2 separate regions of the Homo sapiens genome follow, and region 1 is linked to region 2. Evidence: promoter capture Hi-C in human tissues and cell types (Jung and others, 2019). All regions are on one chromosome and are shown on one strand. Each heading gives the region's core, a stretch centred on a gene start or on the middle of the fragment in contact. The rest is flanking DNA. Distances are from core to core; before and after follow the strand shown.

What was found. The method cuts DNA at HindIII sites, captures the fragments that hold promoters and counts their contacts. A contact is called where the count stands out against the background at its distance.
Region 1: a fragment that was not itself captured here is called in contact with the fragment with the promoter of GNL2 in region 2 in 1 of the 25 tissues and cell types used here (bladder).

Annotation. Positions count from the first base shown.
Region 1 is chr1:37,835,696-37,840,172 of GRCh38, forward strand. MTF1 (metal regulatory transcription factor 1) reads right to left here. Exons shown (of 11, transcript NM_005955.3): 3 at 4,225-4,463; 4 at 2,930-3,061; 5 at 1-49. Among named protein-coding and RNA genes, the nearest start is that of MTF1, 22 kb to the right of the region's middle. The HindIII fragment of the contact is 6,695 bases long and covers 1-4,477 here.
Region 2 is chr1:37,593,593-37,598,167 of GRCh38, forward strand. GNL2 (G protein nucleolar 2) reads right to left here and starts at 2,345. Exons shown (of 16, transcript NM_013285.3): 1 at 2,167-2,345; 2 at 170-254. The coding sequence starts at 2,230. RefSeq lists enhancers at 1,844-1,903, 2,074-2,263. The HindIII fragment of the contact is 8,299 bases long and covers 1-3,394 here.

The DNA.
Region 1 (4,477 bases), core at 1,802-4,301, 240 kb after region 2:
AAGGTGGTGGCTTGCTGCAAATGCTTTTCCACAGCCATCGTGATCGCACCTAAATTTGTTAAGGAAAGAGAAACAGGAGTCATTAGCTAATAGATCTTTATCCTGAACGTCTTTTTTTTTTTTGAGATCGAGTCTCGCTCTGTCCCCAAGGCTGGAGTGCAGTGGCGCAATCTTGGCTCACTGCAAGCTCCACCTCCCGGGTTCATGCCATTCTCCTGCCTCAGCCTCCCGAGTAGCTGGGACTACAGGTGCCCACCACCACGCCCAGCTAATTTTTTGTATTTTTAGTAGAGACAAGGTTTCACCATGTTAGCCAGGATGGTCTCGATCTCCTGACCTTGTGATCCGCCCGCCTCGGCCTCCCAAGTGCTGGGATTACAGACGTGAACCACTGTGCCTGGCCTCTGAACATCTCTTATAAATAGAAACTAAAACAAATATTCAGAACACTAAGATCAGATCAATGACACTGGTTTTAGAGATGGGAATGATGAGAGGTTCTTGAAAAAGTAAGGTGGCATATCTGGGATCAGAGAGAACTGAGAGCCCAGGATAAGTATTTCTTGTCCTACAGGTAAGGTCCATGTTGAGAGCCCTGACAACAAAAGTCTTTTGATGAATTACTTAACAGACCTCTGTTGACAGTGACAGTCCATATGAAAAATCTGCCAGTGGAACATTAGGAATATCAAGAGTAAGCAAAGTGGCTCTCAAATATGTACATGGCTTGCAATGTAACATAAGAACAAAATCAATCAGAAGATAGGCTCAAGTAACTTATCTATAATCTTGTGTGTCGAGATCTACTTCATTCTCTTTTACTGTCTTGATAACCAAAGCTAAAAGGAATCTTTCCCTCCTCAGAACTCCTAAGGCTTTTCTTTACATTTCTTTTATGGCAACTCTCATTTCCAATCTTATTTTCTCTGTGGATACATCTGGTATCTGCTCTCCTAGAGTGTAAACTACTTGAGTACAGGATCCACGTAGCTCTTTCTGTAGTTCCTGCACATAGCAGACATTCCTTAATTACTTATATGAATGAATGCATTTTCTTATAAACCAAAATATTTTATTTCTTTAAATAGAAAGCTTCTCTAAAGCATTTTCATTTTTAATTACATGCAATCATCATCATGTCTAAAGTCTCATTGAATATTCAAGAAAAATGCAGTTTTAATCATCACAAAAATAAATGCATGTGACTGGATAGAAATCAGAGTCCTCTCAGCAGCCTACGGGAAGGGGGGCGGCGGGGAATAACCTAAGCTTCACAGCATCCATCTGTAGAGTAACCAATTACAATCTAACTACTCTTGCCCTTAAAGGGATCATGACTCAGGAATGCATCTGTAACTTAAAAACACAATTCCTTTTTTTTCTGAGACATGGTCTCTCTCTGTTGCCCAGGCTGGAGTGTAGTGGCATGACCATGGCTCACTACAGCCTTGACCTCCCAGGCTCAAGCAATCTTCCCACCTCAGCCTCCTAAATAGCTGGGACCACACGCATGCGCCACCACTCCCAACTAATTTTAAAATTTTCTGTAGAGTCAGGGTCTCACTTGCCCAAGCTGGTCTTGAACTCCTGGGCTCAAGTGATCCTCCCACCTCAGTCTCCCAAAGCACTGGGATTACAGACATAAGCCCAGCCCACAATTCCATTTGATTGGCATCTAAGAGTTGACTGTCTCTAACGACTTTTTATTTCTAAGTACCCTAACAAAACGAGTGGTTTAAGAAGGAACAGGTAGCATATCTAATGCCTTGAATATCCCCTGCCAAAATTCAAATACATTGTTTATTTTTTTTTTATTTTTATTTTTTTTGAGACAGAGTCTCACTCTGTCATCTAGGCTGGAGTGCAATGGCACAATCTTGGCTCACCACAACCTCCGCCTCTCTGGTTCCAGCAATTCTCCTGCCTCAGCCTCCAGAGTAGCTGGGACTATAGGCATGTGACACCACGCCTGGCTGATTTTTGTAGTTTTAGTAGAGATGTGGTCTCACCATGTTGGCCAGGCTGGTCTTAAACTCCTAACCTCACATGATCCACCTGCCTCAGCCTCCCAAATTGCTGGAATTACAGGCATGAGCCGCCATGCCCGGCCTCAAAGACATTGTTTATGGGCAGTTTTTGGCAATACATCTATCTATATTACATTTAGGGGAAATCCTTACAAACTGATTATCTCATTAAAAATGTCATATAATCATCCCAAAGCTGATTTTGAATACCTGTTGAATGCCTGGAATCATGCTATATACTATGAGCAGAGAAGAAAGTAGATAACCCAAGTCCCTCCTTCAAGTTTATAGTAAATGTATCTATTAGATATACATATGTTGACATATATGAATAAAAATGGATGCTCCTATATGTTTGTGTATACACACGAGATATTACAAAGCAATAATTTGAACAAGTAACAACTGCACCACTAAGCTAAGCATCCCTACCTCTCATTTCCTCTCTTGTCTCCTCATTCCCTCCCTCCTTGATTCTTAGGTAGGTATCCCTCCTCTGGGCTTAAGGCACTTTGGCCATCTTGCAGCCTCAGATATTATCCACAAATTTGTGGTTTTTTGTCACCAGACAAAGGTTCTTAAGAAGAAGGCCTGCTTCGGAGTATTTCTCTAGCACTAATAAAAGTACCCACCACATAACTGAGTTTCAACAAATGCTTCTTGGAAATAAATGGGAAAAAATGAGGCAGAAAGGCCATCATCCACAGAGTAAGGATGTTCTTGGACTCCATCAGCACCCCTCTAATCTGCAGTGGTTGGTTATAGCTGTCCTGGGGTGAGCTAACACTGCTAAATCAAGAGCTAGTAAAGGGAGTTTTCTTTCTTTTTTGAAAAATTCCAGAGTATATCAAGACCCCCAGCTGAAACCTGGTCAGTGACAAATAGAAAACAGTAAGACCTACCGAAATGGCTTTTCCCCTGTATGAGTTCGAATGTGCTTCCTCAGATCACTGAGTGTGGTGAAGTATTTGCTGCAGCCTTCAGATTCACAGTTAAACGTTTTCCCTGTGTGAAGCCTCTGATGTGCTTTCAGCCTGCAAAATATTCCAGAAAAATTCCCTTTGTCATAAAATTCTTTTTTTTTTTTTTTTTTTTTTCTGAGACAGAGTTTCGCTCTTGTCGCCCAGGCTGGAGTGCAATGGCGCAGTCTCGGCTCACTGCAACCTCCTCCTGCTAGGTTCAAGCGATTCTCCTGCCTCAGCCTCCCAAGTAGATGGGATTATGGGAGCCCACAACCACGCCTGGCTAATTTTTGTATTTTTAGTACAACGGGGTTTCACCAGGTTGGCCAGGCTGGTCTCGAACTCCTGACCTCAGGTGATCCGCCTGCCTCGGCCTCCCAAAGTGCTGGGATAACAGGCATGAGCCACTGCGCCTGGCCTCCCTTTGTCATAAAGTTCTACAGAGCCTCCCCATGCCAGCTTAATGTGCTTCAGGATCAAGTGCGTAAGAATTCTATACCCATAACATATTAGTATCCAACATATTTTGCCCCAAAAGAAACGCAGAGAATAGCACAGTGGTATGAGTGTGACTCTGGAGACAGACTTCCTGGGATTCAAATCCTGACCCCACATCCTGCTTGGATGGGGAAACTTAAGCTAGTTATAGAACCCCTCTGTGCTTCCATTTACTTATCAGCTATTGTGGGGACTAGCACTTGGAATCATGCCTAGCACACAGTGAGTATTTTTAAGTGTTAGCTACTGTTATTTCTATTACTTTATACTCAATACTGAAGACTATTAAGTCTCCTGATACAAACGTGAAAAAGAGAATTGGCTACTGAATAGGCCACTCCCCATTTCTCAGGATAGAAAAGTCCTTCAAGCTTAGGTAGGACAGAAGCCTTAGCACAAAGATCCTGAGCCAAGGGGAGATAGTACTCTATGCCAAGCACTGAAATGCCCAGGCCAGAATGCTGCTCCATGAGATGCAAATCTAAACAGAAATGTACTGTCGCTTCTAACCAGCCCAAGATACGTCCATCTTTAAGTAACAGGTTTCTCTAATGCATTTTTAAATTTTTTTCTTTCATTTTCTGAGATCTGGCAGAAATGAATTTTACGTAGTTGAACACAGCTGCGCTCTTTTAAAGCCCTGAAAGTGAAAACAACTCCTCTGCAAGGGGAAAGAGCTCTGCCATCACAACAAGGTCAAGGTCAGAGGCTGGCAGAGCATTGGAGACGAGACTGACCTGTACAGTGTGTTGAATGCCTTCTCACAGCCCTGCACGTCACACTCAAATGGCTTCTCCTTCGTGTGCACTCGCACGTGGATCCTGAGGCTGTAAGAGGTAAGGAAGGCTTTGCCACAGCCCTCCTGATTACAGACAAAGGTGTACTCTCCTCGGTGAGTCTTCTGGTGGGTTCGCAGGTTGCCTGCTGTGCTGTAGGTGCGGGGACAGCCCTCAAAGGTACATTGGTACCGCTTTACCTGGCAGAGAAAAG
Region 2 (4,575 bases), core at 1,095-3,594:
ACCAAAAGTTAACACTTTATCCTAACGACACTCACGTACAATTATATTTGAGAATATATAACTCCTATTTGGAGGAAGTGGGGGTGAGAACAGCAAAGGCTTCATCAGTCTCAGCTAGCAGTCAAGGGCATGAAGGAAAAGAGAAAGGATGACAGCACCCAGTGCTCACCTGCGCTCCTTTTGCCTATACATATTCAGGCGCCGGATGGTGGCCCGGTCCCTCATGTTTTGGCCTCCTGCTCCCTGCACTCGATCTACAAAAGGCAGAAGTACACAGTGCACTATTTGATAACCAACCAGTATAACCAACAAGTCATTGCTTAAAATGCAACAAGTAGTTCACCCAAATTAGGTAAGAAGCCACCAACCACAAAAATCTCTACTTTCTCCATATGTTGCTCCAATAATTAGTACTTGAAGCTACATGGTATGACAAAGCTGACCCAATCTTTGATCTTCGATAGGATTGTATTTGAGAAGAATAGCTAATATTTTTGAGCACTTATGATGGCACTGTGTTATCCAAATTATAGGCATCATCTGATTTAATCTATACAATAATCCTATAGATATATTATCCCCATGCTGCGGAGTGAGAAACTGAGGCACAGTGGTCAGACACCTTGCCCAAGGTCAAACCGTTACTAAATGGCAGAGCCAGAATTTGTACATGAGCATTTGATCACCATCTATGGTCTTAACCACGAAGATACCTACCTCTGTGTCTCAGTTTAACAAATATTGAGTGCCTGCTCCATGCAAGGCACCATGGAGACTATAATTTTGATATATGTGTTCTTACTTTCTTAATGTTTGATTTTTGTTTAATCAACACAGCAATTCTTGCCTTACATCTCAAAGAGAAAGAGAAGGACAAACGAATAGGGTAATACTAGCCTAGCTTCTCATTTTGGGAGCCCTTTATTTACCTATTTATTCATTTATTCATTATTATTATCTTTTTTTTGAGACAGAGTCGTGCTCTGTCACCCAGGCTGGAGTGCAGTGTCGCGATCTCAGCTCACTACAACCTCCACCTCCCCGGTTCATGCAATTCTTCCACCTCAGCCTCCCGAGTAGCTGGGATTACGGGCATCCGCCATCATGCCCGGCTAATCTTTGTATTTTTGTAGAGAGGGGGTTTCATCATGTTGGTCAGGCTGGTCTTGAACTCCTGACCTCGGGTGATCCGACCGCCTCGGCCTCCCAAAGTGCTGGGATTACAGGCGTGAGCCACCACACCTGGCCAGGAGCCCCTTAAATCACCTGTCTGGTCCTGAAGTGATACAGTAGAAGACAGGCTGAAACCACAGCCCATTGGCTCTCCTAACAGTCTCTAACAGTAGAAACTGGCGGCTCTACTACTACTCACTAACTGTTGCAATTATGACAGGCCACTTCCTGTATTTTGATTCAGTCTCTTCACCTGTAAAATCATAATCTCTAAGGGCCTTTTGGGGTCTAACATTCTGAGATTCCAGTTTGTGCAAAGTGAATAATTTATTATCAATCCGGAATAAACATTCAACTTGCATTAAAATTGTCAAAAATTCTAAACCATATTTTAAAACAAAGTTTTATTAATTAAACCTGAATGGAAGGAACTCTCCCATAGGATGTCTTGTTAATCGTACAGGTGGAACCTCGCCAAAACTTACACACATCTCCTAAACAGCCTTACTGCAATGATCATACTGACTTCTTTGTAGGGTTCTCTAAGCACTTTACCAGATAGAATAATTCCAAGGGCCAAAACTATAAGCCCTTTCTCATTTTAAAGGTCAAAGCTAAGGTGGCAGGCAAGTATGATCACGTGTAAAAGGCCCGAAGGGTCAACCTACACCATTTTTAATCTGACTTTCTCTGCATCTCTCAACTGGAGAGGACCCAAGGCTGTCAGCCTGAGTGTTCACTTTCCTTGACTTCAGACCAGTTGACTACACTTTGGCCTGCCAGGCGTGCACTGAGCCCTCCTCAGTTCCCCCCTGAGAAGAAACCACCACAAATATTGCTTTCCTTTTTCCCTTTTCATCCCCAACAGCCACCCCGCTCGTAGTCATTCTAAGCAATGCCACTCGAGTAACCCTCCTTCCCCTCCAGTGCTCCTCGGAGCCCTTCCCTATACTTCCTCCAAGCTCCACCCTCGATCAGCCCTGCCGCCTGTACCTGGGTTTGTGCTGGCCTTGGACGGGTTGATGGTGCTCCGTCCTTTGTACTTGGGCTTCACCATCTTGGCGACGAGACCGGGACCGGAGTGCGAGGTCCGGCTTACGTGGTGAAACAAACTTTTATGTTCCCAAGCCCGGCCGAAGACACCCGCCTGAACCACGCCGGACCACGTGTGCACGACGTACGTCACTTCCGCTCGCGTCCCTCTCGGCCTCAGAGCGACTTCCTGTGAACGCGCGGCGCGCGCCGTCACCCTCCTGGCTCCGCCCCCGCTCCAGCCGCCTAGGCGTCGCCCTGCGTGGAGCCCCAGCCCGCTCCAGCCCTAGCAACCGCCAAGCTGCCCGTTCATAGCAACCGCCTAGTTAACCTGAACGCGCGGCCAGAGCTCCCAGTTGGGTCCACCTCCGAATAAAGAAGCTTCTTCCCAGGCCAGTGGCACAAGCTTAAGTTTGTCTTCTGAATTTGTCTTCTAAGTCCTTCCAAAAGTTGCCGACCACACAGCAGCCAAATATCCGTTAGGAGGTGTCATTCTCTTCCTTACAACTCCAGTGGCTTATCATCACTCTTAGAATGAGAGGTAGGGGAAGGGAGAAGGGAGAAACAGACAGAGACAGAGATTGATTCAAACTTTTTGCCATCCCTACAGGATTCTGTGATCTGGCCCCTGCCTGCCTATTTATCTAATCTCATGTGTACGTCCCTCCCTCTGGTTATTCTGACATTTACACTGGATATTCTCTCTGCCTGAATCACTCTTTCCCAGAATCTTTGCATAGCTGTCATTCAATCCTAAGCTCAAATATCACCTATTGGTAGGCCTGCAAGAATTAGCAAATAGAAATACAGGACACCAAATTAAATTAGAATTTCAGAGAAAAAAAATGAATACTTTTCTTTAGTACACCTCCAACAGTGCCTGGAAAATACTTAGACTAAAAAAGTATTCATCGTTTGCCTGAAATTCAAATGTAACTGTACGTTCTGTATTTTATCTGGTGACCCTTCCTGCTGTGAGAACTCATTCCTGTCTAATTTGTCTAAATCAGCCACCTTTCACCCTTTCACAGTTATTCTGTTACAGTATTCTGTTTTATTTATTTCATGGCATTTATCACTAGTTGAATTTTTTTTACAAGTTTATTGGCTGCTTCCCCCAAACTAGAATGTAAGATTCTTAAAAGCAGGGACCTTGTTAATTTGTTCACTGCTGTGTCTTTAAGACTTGAATAGCATCTGAAACAAAGGACTCAAAAAATATTCATTAAGTGAAAGAATGAGTAGATGGGAATGTCTCTTGCCTTGAGGATGAAGGAAGGCATTAAGACCCAGTGATTTCTGTTTCTACTAGCCAGAATAAAGTGTCTAGATGCCAGTGTTTGAACCAAGAAGCCCTCTCTCTTTTTACAATTTATTTTTTGTTTGTTTGTTTTTGTTTTTGTTTTTTGAGACGGAGTCTCGCTCTTGTTGCCCAGGCTGGAGTGCAGTGGCCCGGTCTCGGTTCACTGCAACCTCCACCTCCCGGGTTCAAGCAATTCTCCTGCCTCAGCCTCCCAAGTAGCTGAGATTACAGGCGCATGGTATCATGCCCAGCTAATTTTTGTATTTTTAGTAGAGACGGGCTTTCACCACATTGGCCAGGCTGGTCTCAAACTCCTGACCTCAGGTGATCCACCTGCCTCAGCCTCCCAAAGTGCTGGGATTACAAGTGTGAGCCACCTCGCCTGGTCCCTCTCTCTTTTTTGGTACCTCAAATTGTCAGAAAATGGCCATCTTTGTACCCTCTGGATAGGCCAAAGAAGAGATGGTTAGGCAAGAGGAAGGGTGGATTCATGCAGTGTAGCTCATTTCATAAAAACAAACAATTTGTTATAAAGTGAGGTATTCTAATTGAGCAGGGGATGATTGAGTCTTTATTTCTCTGAGTTTGAAACAAACCCCAAAACATTCTCTTTAGAGCAAAAGCAGGCCATGTCATAGGCTAGAGCTGGAAATACCTTCTGTCCCTCAAGCTTCGCTTTTATTGCCCCAAGGGCAAGTATCATGAGATTAAATGCAGCTCTGCTGGGAAGGCCCTGACTGTGACCTGTGTTAGGGAAGCTCTGAGAGCTATTTGGAAAAAACTTCATGATCAGTGAAGATGCCCCCTTCCACCCCACACTGTCCCTCTGATCCCCAAAACAAGGATACCATAGCCTCCTCCCAGAGAGAAGATTCAGTTAATGTGTTTCTGATGCCTCAAGTTGGTGCAAACCAGAATAAACACGGATGGCAAAAATCAGCCTATGAGCTCATTCAGGCTTTGATCAGAGACATAATTTCATTATGAAATTTTGAATCAGGCTGTTGTGAAGTCTTGCCAAGGAGTTTCATTTTCCCAGATGATATGGTGGGTTGTTTCTCTCCTGT